Linked DNA regions of Homo sapiens: region 1 is linked to region 2. Evidence: promoter capture Hi-C in 16 types of primary human blood cells and fetal thymus (Javierre and others, 2016). All regions are on one chromosome and are shown on one strand. The core of a region is centred on a gene start or on the middle of the fragment in contact, and the rest is flanking DNA. Distances in the headings are between cores, read along the strand shown.

Region 1 (4,680 bases), core at 18-2,517, 730 kb after region 2:
ATGCTAGAATCGAAGCAGTACAGCCGTACAAATATAAAACAAACATATATTCTCATAGGAGTCCAATAAAACCGAAAGGTTAAGCACCCTAAAGCAACACTAAAACTTTTAGATATCACTGGATTCAGCAGCAATTGAGAATTGTCGTGAATTGGGGCTGTGAGAAGGTACAAAAAAAGTAAATCCAAACATTTAACTCACAAAGTGATTTCTAATATTGAGTTTCCATCATTCAAATAAAATCCAAAAGTCATCTAATTTGCACTTTCTATTGGCATTTACAGCAAAGACATCTTAAACATTCAATTCTCACTTTAGTTTTTACCTCACAAATCATGAGTTAGACACAAACGAGAAGCCCTGGCATTTTCCAGTGTAGTTCACGAGTGCCCTCTAGTGATAGTGAGGTCAGTTAGGATAAGCCATTCCCCTAAATAATTGTTTTAAAAAGTGAAGATTCACTAAATGTTCAATTTCTGCTGTCAATTAAAAATGGATCTTCTGCCACTTTTATTTGCACTGCTATAAACTCAACTTATTCTCTCTCTTTAAATCCATATCTAGGCAAAACCATTTATTGAAGAATATGCAATGCAACCATCTGAAAACATTTCAAATACAGTAACTTTTACCTGATCCCAAAAAGAATACATTGCGTTGAGTGTTGGGAAACCTTTTTACCACAGAATAAACATGATAACCAAAAGTAAAAGAAAAATTTTTGGAAGTAATATACTTGTGTAATTACTTCATTTCTCTAACTTTTCAGCATTTCAGTGACTGGTTACAAATTATCACAATGCTTAAATCCACAAAATCCTGGTTCATAAATCCCTCATCACTGATTTCTTCCCACTTTTGGTGTTTTTTAAAAATAAAGACTTCCAGCAGATTCCCTTATTCCTTAACTCTCTATCTCAGATTTCTTAAACTGGTGGCCTGTAGGTCAATTGTGGTCTGTAGGCATGCTTACTTTACCTTTTAAATTTTCTTACTGGCTGCTAACACTTAAAAATGCAGATTTCTGACATGTCCTGAAGAAAGAAAATCACATTTGGCCATGCCTGCCTGTATCGCCACATGGTGTCACATTGTCAGGAGCCAAGTGCGCTGCCCTTCAGGTGAGGTCTATGTTCTCCGTGTAGCCAGGGGCACAGCTCAGCCACCTCAGTCATGAGGGTGACTTACCTGGCCCCTGGAGACATTTAAGTTGCAACCCCTGAGTGTGTGACCACTTTCAATTCTTCTGGTAAAAGTTCTCTTTCTACTCCTTATAACCAATCTTATCTTCTATCATATTAGCACCACACAATAAAAGAAACACACAGCACATACTAAAAGAAATATGCTATTATAAAGAAAAGCAAAAAAGATACCTCCATAATAGAGAAATGAGAACACATAAATGCAATCTATTTTCTCCAGACTTGATAAAGTTCACTTTGTGCTTATGAATTGTGTCTTTATTTTGAGGTGACAAAACTCTCACCATGGGTTCCTGGGTAGCAAATAAGCTACATAGATCTTCACTGTCACAAACCACCTGCTCACATCCCAAGATTTCTCTCTTAGAACCAAAGTCTAGGCTTTCAGTTGAATGTCAAGTCAGGACATAGAAAAAGAAACATGACACTCACGGGTGTGCTGCTGTCGGAGAAGGTGTTCATGCTGACAGAGCTGCTCAGCTTCTCTGAGGAGACAGAGGGTGGGGACGGGCTCCTCTTCCCCAGGGGCTCCTGCCGCTGCAGGTACTCTCGCCATGCTCGCTGAATGCTGAAAAAACAAAACAAAACAAAAAACAGCACACACATGATTACTGTTGGATCATGGTCCACAGACTCAGAAACTCACAAGGAGTCTGAAGGAATTGGCTTTGGTGCCAAGGGAAGTAGAACATACAGAATGTGATGTAGTGAATCAGGAGACCTGAACTTTAACTTCAATCCAGCCATGGAGACTGTCTCCCTACCTTACTGGTTTGACTTTCACAGACTTGACTGCACTCAACCGGCCTAAAAGAGTCAACTTAATAATAAAATTCATCAGTCAAAACAAACTAGTTTGCACAGGTAAATGTACTTTGATTTATGAGACAACAAATTCTTTCAATTTTTCATCTTATATTTTAGATGAGAATAATAAATAGGCTGACTACTACTGCATGCACTCAATGTGTGATTTTTGAGGGGCCATTCTGTGCCAGGGTCAGCTGTAGACTCTGAACAGGGACTCTGCCGTGCACAGCTCCAGAGCAGTCCTTTGCATGACTGCAAGGTGAAGGTGTCAGTGATGTGCAGCACAGTCTGCATGGCCAAATGCAGTGGCCCTGCTGTGGGGCACAAGGCAGGCGAGAGCACCACATCATGGGTTTTATATACTGTGGAAGGGAATAGGAAATGGACAAAGATTATAAATAAAGAAATGGACAAAGATTATTCAAGTGTTACGTACTACTCAGAGAATTAATGTAATGTCATTAGGCAGCTATTTCAGGTTTCGCCTAAGGAAGTTATTTTCTGTGATTAGTATCAGAAAAAATAAATTATCTTCTGCTCAGGATAACGGAAACCTCTTCTTAATATAAGCTAAGTGATTCCCCCATGGACTGTGTATTAGTCCGTTTTCATGCTGCTATGAAGAAATACCCGAGACTGGGTAATTTATTAAGAAAAGAGGTTTAATTGACTCACAGTTCTGCATGGCTGGGGAGGTCTCAGGAAACTTACAATCATGGCAGAAGGCACCTCTTCTGAGTAAAGGGGGAAGCCCCATGTAAAAGCACCAGACCTCCTGAGAACTCACTATCAACAGAACGGCATGGGGGAAATTGCCCCATGATTCAATTGTCTACATCTGGTCACACCCTTGACATGTGGGGATCATTACAATTCAAGGTGAGATTTGGGTAGGGACACAGAGCCAAATCATATCAGACTGGCTTGTGATCTTTGAGATTAACATCTCGATTTTCATAGGGGGGGTCACTGAACACAGTCTAACCTCTTCTGGGAGTTAACAGTTCATGCGGACTAGTTGTTAGGATTCAGCCTTTTAAAATAGTTTAAGATAGCTGTATTAATTCTATCACTATCTCTTCTAAACTCCTGGAAGCATCTGATCTCTGTAATTCTTTCACACACAACCTATGTCATTAAAGTTGTTTCTGAATCAACAAACTTATTTATTCTCATTTGGCTGGAATAGTTCAAAGATCATCAATTCTCAATGGTCACAGCATATAAATAACAAAAAAAATGTGACCACATTATTGAATCTGTATGTTTTCCCTAATTTATTAAAGGTCTGGGAATTACAATGCTCAAGGAAAAGTCCATCAACTGTAGTGAAAACAATACTTTTGGGTCAGTAGCCAATTCCCTGAAGCTAGGAAACTTAAGCTTTAGGGGTTCTTACTTAAAGGCCAGGAGCCTCTTCCAAGATCCTGATGAGGGGCTCTTCATGATTTGTATAGAATTGTAAAAATAAGATACTTTTAGAGTTTTTTTTTTAAAGGACTCTTCAGATTATACATACTTCAAGCCTCACTAAAGCAGAATCTGGCCCAAATTTGAATTATATTTGGTCACTGTTTTATTACGAAATCTTGCTCAAAGTGCATTTTTATTTCTGTTTTTCTTTGGCTTAAAGATTTTAAGCAGAATGGGAAAGGGAGTCCCATAAGATTGCCTGCCTGAGTTTGGTGGTCTTCTTGCTTCTTCAAGACCCGTTATATCAGAGAGGAGTGAACTTAAGGAAGCTGTCGGTGATGTTCACATCCTCTGAGTTGCTTGGGGTATCCCAGAGCCCAGCTAACAAATTCTGCTGCTTGAAGGTTCCTAAAGTCTCTAAACCTGCCCGTCAAGAGCTCAGAATGTGTAACATTTTAAAGGCTGTCTAAAAATTAGAAAATGTTGACAACCAATAGAACACCCACAACTTTATAGGACTTTGAGGTATTCTACACTGTCCTTTTTTCCCTTTAAATCGTCTTCATTATTCAGAACATACAAAAACAAAATATAGTGGCCATTTGAGATACTACATTTTAGCTTGTTGAACACCAGAGGGCGGTGTGACACCTCTAAAGAACCAAATAACATTGGGCAAAACTGAGATGAGAGGTTTGCAAAGGAATTTGCACTTAAACATCCTCTTCTCCCTCCTGGTTTTATGGAATTTGGAAATTGGCATACCAGTTCTCCTTAAGTCAGATATTAAGAAGACAACATTATTTTCTTCCTAGTTAATGGATATCCTTTTCTTTTCTAATTTATAAGGTGACAATATTAAGTACTTTTAAAATATGTATTTAAAACATCTGTGCACCCACTGACTTTCTTAATACAGGAGCTGTTTTTTTGTAATATTTATTTTATAGTCATCCACATATGTGAAAACAATTTATTACACGATCTTATTATTTTTAAAACATACTATGATATATATATTTCTCATTACTACTTGTCCTTCATAATTACAGTTTTGAGGACTAGATGATAAGCTGGACAAGTCTTTAAATTAGCATTTGGGGTCAAAAAATGACAGGGCCATCATGTCACACCAGGCTATTACCCAAAATTGCTACATTGTTTTTTAATGATGGAACTATGCTATGTTATTCTCTGTATCATAGAAAAGTGTTTACATGTTATTTACTCCCCTTGGCGATTCCTACAACAT
Region 2 (4,930 bases), core at 6-2,505:
CTTCACCCATCCATTCATGCTTGGCACCCACCTCCCTCAACCCATTTCCAACACTTTTCCTTCAACACCTGAGAGATGACTCGAGTTATTACAAAGCGCCACTCTATTCTAGGGCTAGAAGCCAGCTCCCTGTGAGGGTCTAGAGATGAGCTTGGACAAGGGTGTTGAACCCAACACTCACCCAGAGAAAGCCTACATGTTTTTGATCAGGGAAACCCAGACCAGGTGGTGAAGTGGCTGAGTCAGACTTGGGACCCAGTGTTTTAAAAACAGTGGAGTGAGAAAGCCTGACTTTTTTTGTTTTTTTAAGACGGAGTCTCACTCTGTGGCCCAGACTGGAGTGCAGTGGCACGATTTTGGCTCACTGCAACCTCCACCTCCGAGTTCAAGCAATTTTCCCTGCCTTAGACTCCCGAGTAGATGGGATTACAGGCACCCACCACCACACTCGGCTAATTTGTGTATTTGTTAGTAGAGACGGGGTTTCACCATGTTGGTCAGGCTGGTCTTGAACTCCTGACCTCAGGAGATCTGTCCGCCTTGGCCTCCCAAAGTGCTGGGATTACAGGCGTGAGCCATTGCACCCGGCCAAGCCTGACTTTAGAACTGGCTAGGATCTGCCTTCTGTTTGTAGCTGAGGGACCCTAGGCAGGAAAGCAGGAAATCTCCCACGCTGGGCCTCAGTTTCTCCTCTACGAAGTGGGCATAATGATAGCTCATCAGGCTGTTTCGAGATGAAAAGAGACATGCCCTATTTAGCACACGGTGAGACCCCTATTCTTATTCCTCTTTGCAGGAGACGGCTGCTGCTGTTCCAGTCTCTCCTTAGGCAGACTTGAGTTTCTACCCACTCTTCCCAAGCAGCCGCCCCTCCGCACCCGAGCGAGCCAAAGACCTGGCGGGCTGAGTACTCACTGCGCGCTGGACACATGCTGAGCCGGCACTGCAGGGACACAGGGCGAGCCGCTGGATGCAGACCTGTGGCCGCGGCAGGTGAGGGCGGTGGCTGGGAGGCTGACCCAGGGGGCCACATTTTTATAATTGTCCCGAGGCGCGGCAGGACTTTCCCGGGACTCTGGTCTCTTGCTTTCTGTCTCCTTCTGTGTCTCTCTCTACATCAGCTTCTCGGTGACACGTGCGGTGCGGCCGGCCCGCGGGGCTTGCGGCGCTTTCGGATTAACTCCCGGGGTGCCCGGCCGCAGCCGTTCCGGGACGGCCCCGCCGCCTCCAGCTCGGCCCAAAATGAAAGCGAAATGTTCGCAGTTACTGCGCGGGGTCCACAGGCGGGCGGGACACCCCGCCCACCACCCTGGGTCCCCGGCCTTAGCCGGACGCCCCGTGTCTAAGCTACCCCGCCCCGCAGCTGTGCAGCGCCCCCTGCCGACGTAGAGAGAGGAGTGCCTCCCACTTTGCATGTCCTGCGTAGGGATGGGCCCTAACCACGACCTCCAGCCTAGTACTGGAAGGGGTAGGCAAATCATTCACTCATCATCGTTCCTTTAGATGGCTCACTAGATGCCAGGCCGACGTTGCACCAGGTGCAGGACACCCAGGGAGAACAGGACCCTTGGGGCATTGCCACACTAAATCAGACTCAAGGCGTTTTGTTCACAGGTCTTTTCTGAAACCTGAAAAGGGATGAGAGCTGGCTGACTCTGCAATTATTACTCTTGTAGAGAATCCAGTTTAACGATAGGATGAATACACAGAGTCCTGGGAGGAAAGACCTAGAGAAAGAGCCCACGCTCAGCCGGAGCAACGGGGTCCAGGAGTCAGCAAAGGCTCCCGGGAGCAGGCAGGGGCCCCAACCTGAGTGTTAAAAACAAGCAGGCATTAGACCGCTTCCAGCGGGAGGGCACGCAGGGTCTAGCCAGGGGAAACAGGGATCAGAAGCGCAGTCATGAAGGGTTGAGGGAGGTGGGGGTCTAGGTGTCCTTGCAGGGTGTGAGGCTGGAGGGCTGGATGGGGCCATGCCATGAGGGCAGGGGATGCCATACTAAGGAGTGTACTTTCTGTGCTGAGAGTAGTGGGGAGTCTTCCTGGGTTTTAGGCGGGAGATGTGGCAGAATTTGCATGATGGGGGGATCCCTTCAGCCACAGCATGAAGGATGGATCCAGGGGTCAGGAGTAGAGCAGAGGGAAGAGTTGACAAGGTGTGGCCAAGTCCTTATTCAGTATGGAGAACACAGGGTGGGCAGGAGGGACTCTCAGAGGGCTTGTGGGCCAAGGCTTGGTAGCTCCTCAGGTGAGCGGGAGAGGAAGGCCCTGAGAATGGGGAATGGAGATTGTTCTAGCTTTACAGGGATTACTGTATAAGAGGACTGAGTTTGGAGGAGATGGTGAGAAGTTCCATTTTGGATGTGCTGGGTTTGAGGTTCCTGTGGGACTTTTTAGTTCAGTTGTTTTTCCCACAGGCATTAGTCACCCTAGGCGTGGGTAGTGGGGAGGATGTGTTTGATCTCTGACTTGGAGCTTCCAAAGGGCCTGACTACACCCAGGCCCTAGGACCTAATAACTGGAGCTGCCTTCTGGGTGGCTCATCTGCTCGAAGCTGATGAAGCACGGCTGTAGGGAGTTTTAGGTGTGTGTAAAATAAGAGAAATGGTTGATCTCTAAGGCCCCTTCTAATGCTGCTGTCTGAGAATTCCCCCACGGGATACAGAGTAATCCATTGTCAGAAACAATTGCGTTTAGCAGTTTGTCTAGAGCAAATGACAGGTGCAGAGCTGTGTTGTGGCCACAAGGGTTTAGTGTGGAGTTAAATGTACTTAAAGTCAGGATGAAGACAAGTGTATCACAACTGAGCTGTTTCTCCCCTGGAAGGGCCATCTCCTATACAAAAGTAATTTCTGTTGCTTAGATGAGCACAGGGCCACTGTTAAAAATGGATTATTGGCTACCAGACACAGTTTCTAATTTACATTTTTGTGAAATAGTTTCCTGAAGTGCTCCATGTCCTCTAGCTAAGATGAAATGAAAACCTTCTTCTAGGAATACATGATTTTTCTATAAGTGACAGTCTTAGCTCACAATCACTACTTCACAGTGTGTAGCATTGTCGTGGAGGTCTCGGCCAATGCTATAAGGAAAGAAAAAGAAATGAGAGCTTTAAACATTGGAAAAGAAAAGGTAAAACTGTCACTTTTTACAGTTGATATACAAAAAGAAAAAAAATTAATAGACTATTAGAACTAAGAAGAGAATTTAACAACATCATGCAATACACATATCAACTTAAAAAAAATCAGCCGATTTTCTTTGTATCTGCAACAATCCATCAGAAAATGTAATAAAAACAAGATGACATGCATAGAAGCAGCCAAACTATAAAGTAACTGACTGTAGATACAGAGGCAGTATAATGGCTAAGAGTATGGACTAAACTATGTTAATCCAGGTTCTGCTACTTACTTGCTGTGTGTTCTTAGGTGAGTTATTTATCTCTCTGGGCTCAGTTTCCTCATCTGTTAAATGATGATAATAAAAGTACCTACAGTATAGAGTTATTATGATTATTACATGAGCTTGGATAACTACAGAATAGTGTTTGGAGAAAAATTTTAAAGTTCAGTCAAGAATATAGTGTGATTTAATTAAATAATTCTATACCCTTGGGTGGAAGGTTTCTCTATATAGAAAGCTTAAGCCTCTTTTCGTTAATTCACATGCTCAATGTAATTCCAATACAAGCTACAAATAAATTTTCTCAGAAACTTAATAATAAGCCTACTCTAAAATACAGATGTAATAAAATCTATGACTAAGTTAAAAAAATTTTTTTTGAGACATGGTTTTACTGTATCACCCAGGCTGGAGTGTAGTGGTGGCACAGTCACAGCTCACTGCAGCCTTGACCTCCTGGGCTAAAGTGATCCTCCCACTTCAGCCTCCTGAGTAGCTTGGACCACAGGCAACACCATCATGTCCAGCTAATTTTTATTTTTGTATTTTGTAGAGACGGAGTCTAGTTTTGTTGCCTAGGCTGGTCTCAAACTCCTGGGCTCAAGTGATCCACCCACCTTGGCCTCCCAAAGTGCTGGGATTACAGGCGTGAGCTGCTGTTCCTGGCCTTAAGTAAAAATGCTAAGGGAATAATGAAAAGGGGGACTAACCCTATCACATATGGACATAATTTAAAGCCATAGAAATTAAAGTAGTGATCTTTGCAACAGATCAGGCATATGGACCATTGAAACAGAGTAGAGAAATTATAGATAGATTTGTATATTTGGGTATTAAGTATAAGATAATACAGATGATTCCCTGATCAATGAGGAAAACATGCAATATTTAGTAGAAAATACTCAATGGGCTGGGCATAATGGCTCACACCTGTAATCCCAGCACTTTGGGAGGTCAAGGCAGGAGAATTGCTTGAGGTCAGTAGTTCAAGGCCAGTCTGAGCAAAAACTCCCTACAAAAAATTTTTTTAAAAAGAGAAAATGTTCAGCGTATGATGAAAAATAAAACTGGACTCCAATCTAAAACAACAGAGGTGAATCCATTTGGAAGTGAATTAAAGACCAAATGTGAAAAGTAAAATTGTTACAGTAGTAGAAGAAAATATAGAGGACTGTCTTTGTCACTTATAAGTGGGAAGGACTTTTTTAAAACTTCTAAAGCTCCAAACCATAAGGCAAAATACCTATCAATTGGATTACATAAAAATGAAGATTTCTGTTTTACACATTTCCTCTATGCATGAACCAAATGAACAGACAGCTGACAGATTGAGAGAAGATATTTTTCAGTGTCTAAAACCAATATTTTCAATGTCTAAAAACAAGGAACTCTTGTAAGTCAGCAAGAAAAAGACAGAAACACTAGTAAAAAATGCGTAAAGCTCATGAATAAGCAATTTAACGAGAAGAAACCCCAAAGACTAATGAGCATACCTGGAGGCTCAGTTATATCAGAAAATGCAAATGAA

What was found. Contacts are between HindIII fragments. The CHiCAGO score rates a contact against its expected background, and 5 or more counts as called.
Region 1: a fragment that was not itself captured here is called in contact with the fragment with the promoter of IL12A in region 2 in 1 of 17 cell types (endothelial precursors); the score reaches 6.5 in endothelial precursors.

Annotation. Positions count from the first base shown.
Region 1 is chr3:159,259,641-159,264,320 of GRCh38, reverse strand. IQCJ-SCHIP1 (IQCJ-SCHIP1 readthrough) reads right to left here. Exons shown (of 10, transcript NM_001414413.1): 4 at 1,638-1,773. It overlaps IQCJ (IQ motif containing J), which reads right to left. Exons shown (of 4, transcript NM_001042706.3): 4 at 574-1,773. The coding sequence ends at 1,590. Among named protein-coding and RNA genes, the nearest start is that of SCHIP1, 11 kb to the left of the region's middle. The HindIII fragment of the contact is 4,266 bases long and covers 1-3,400 here.
Region 2 is chr3:159,985,160-159,990,089 of GRCh38, reverse strand. IL12A (interleukin 12A) reads right to left here and starts at 1,255. Exons shown (of 7, transcript NM_001397992.1): 1 at 916-1,255. The coding sequence starts at 931. It overlaps IL12A-AS1 (IL12A antisense RNA 1), which reads left to right. Exons shown (of 10, transcript NR_108088.1): 9 at 797-993. RefSeq lists enhancers at 995-1,044, 544-1,044, 1,045-1,545, 2,397-3,596 and silencers at 1,165-1,214, 1,285-1,484. The HindIII fragment of the contact is 5,775 bases long and covers 1-3,642 here.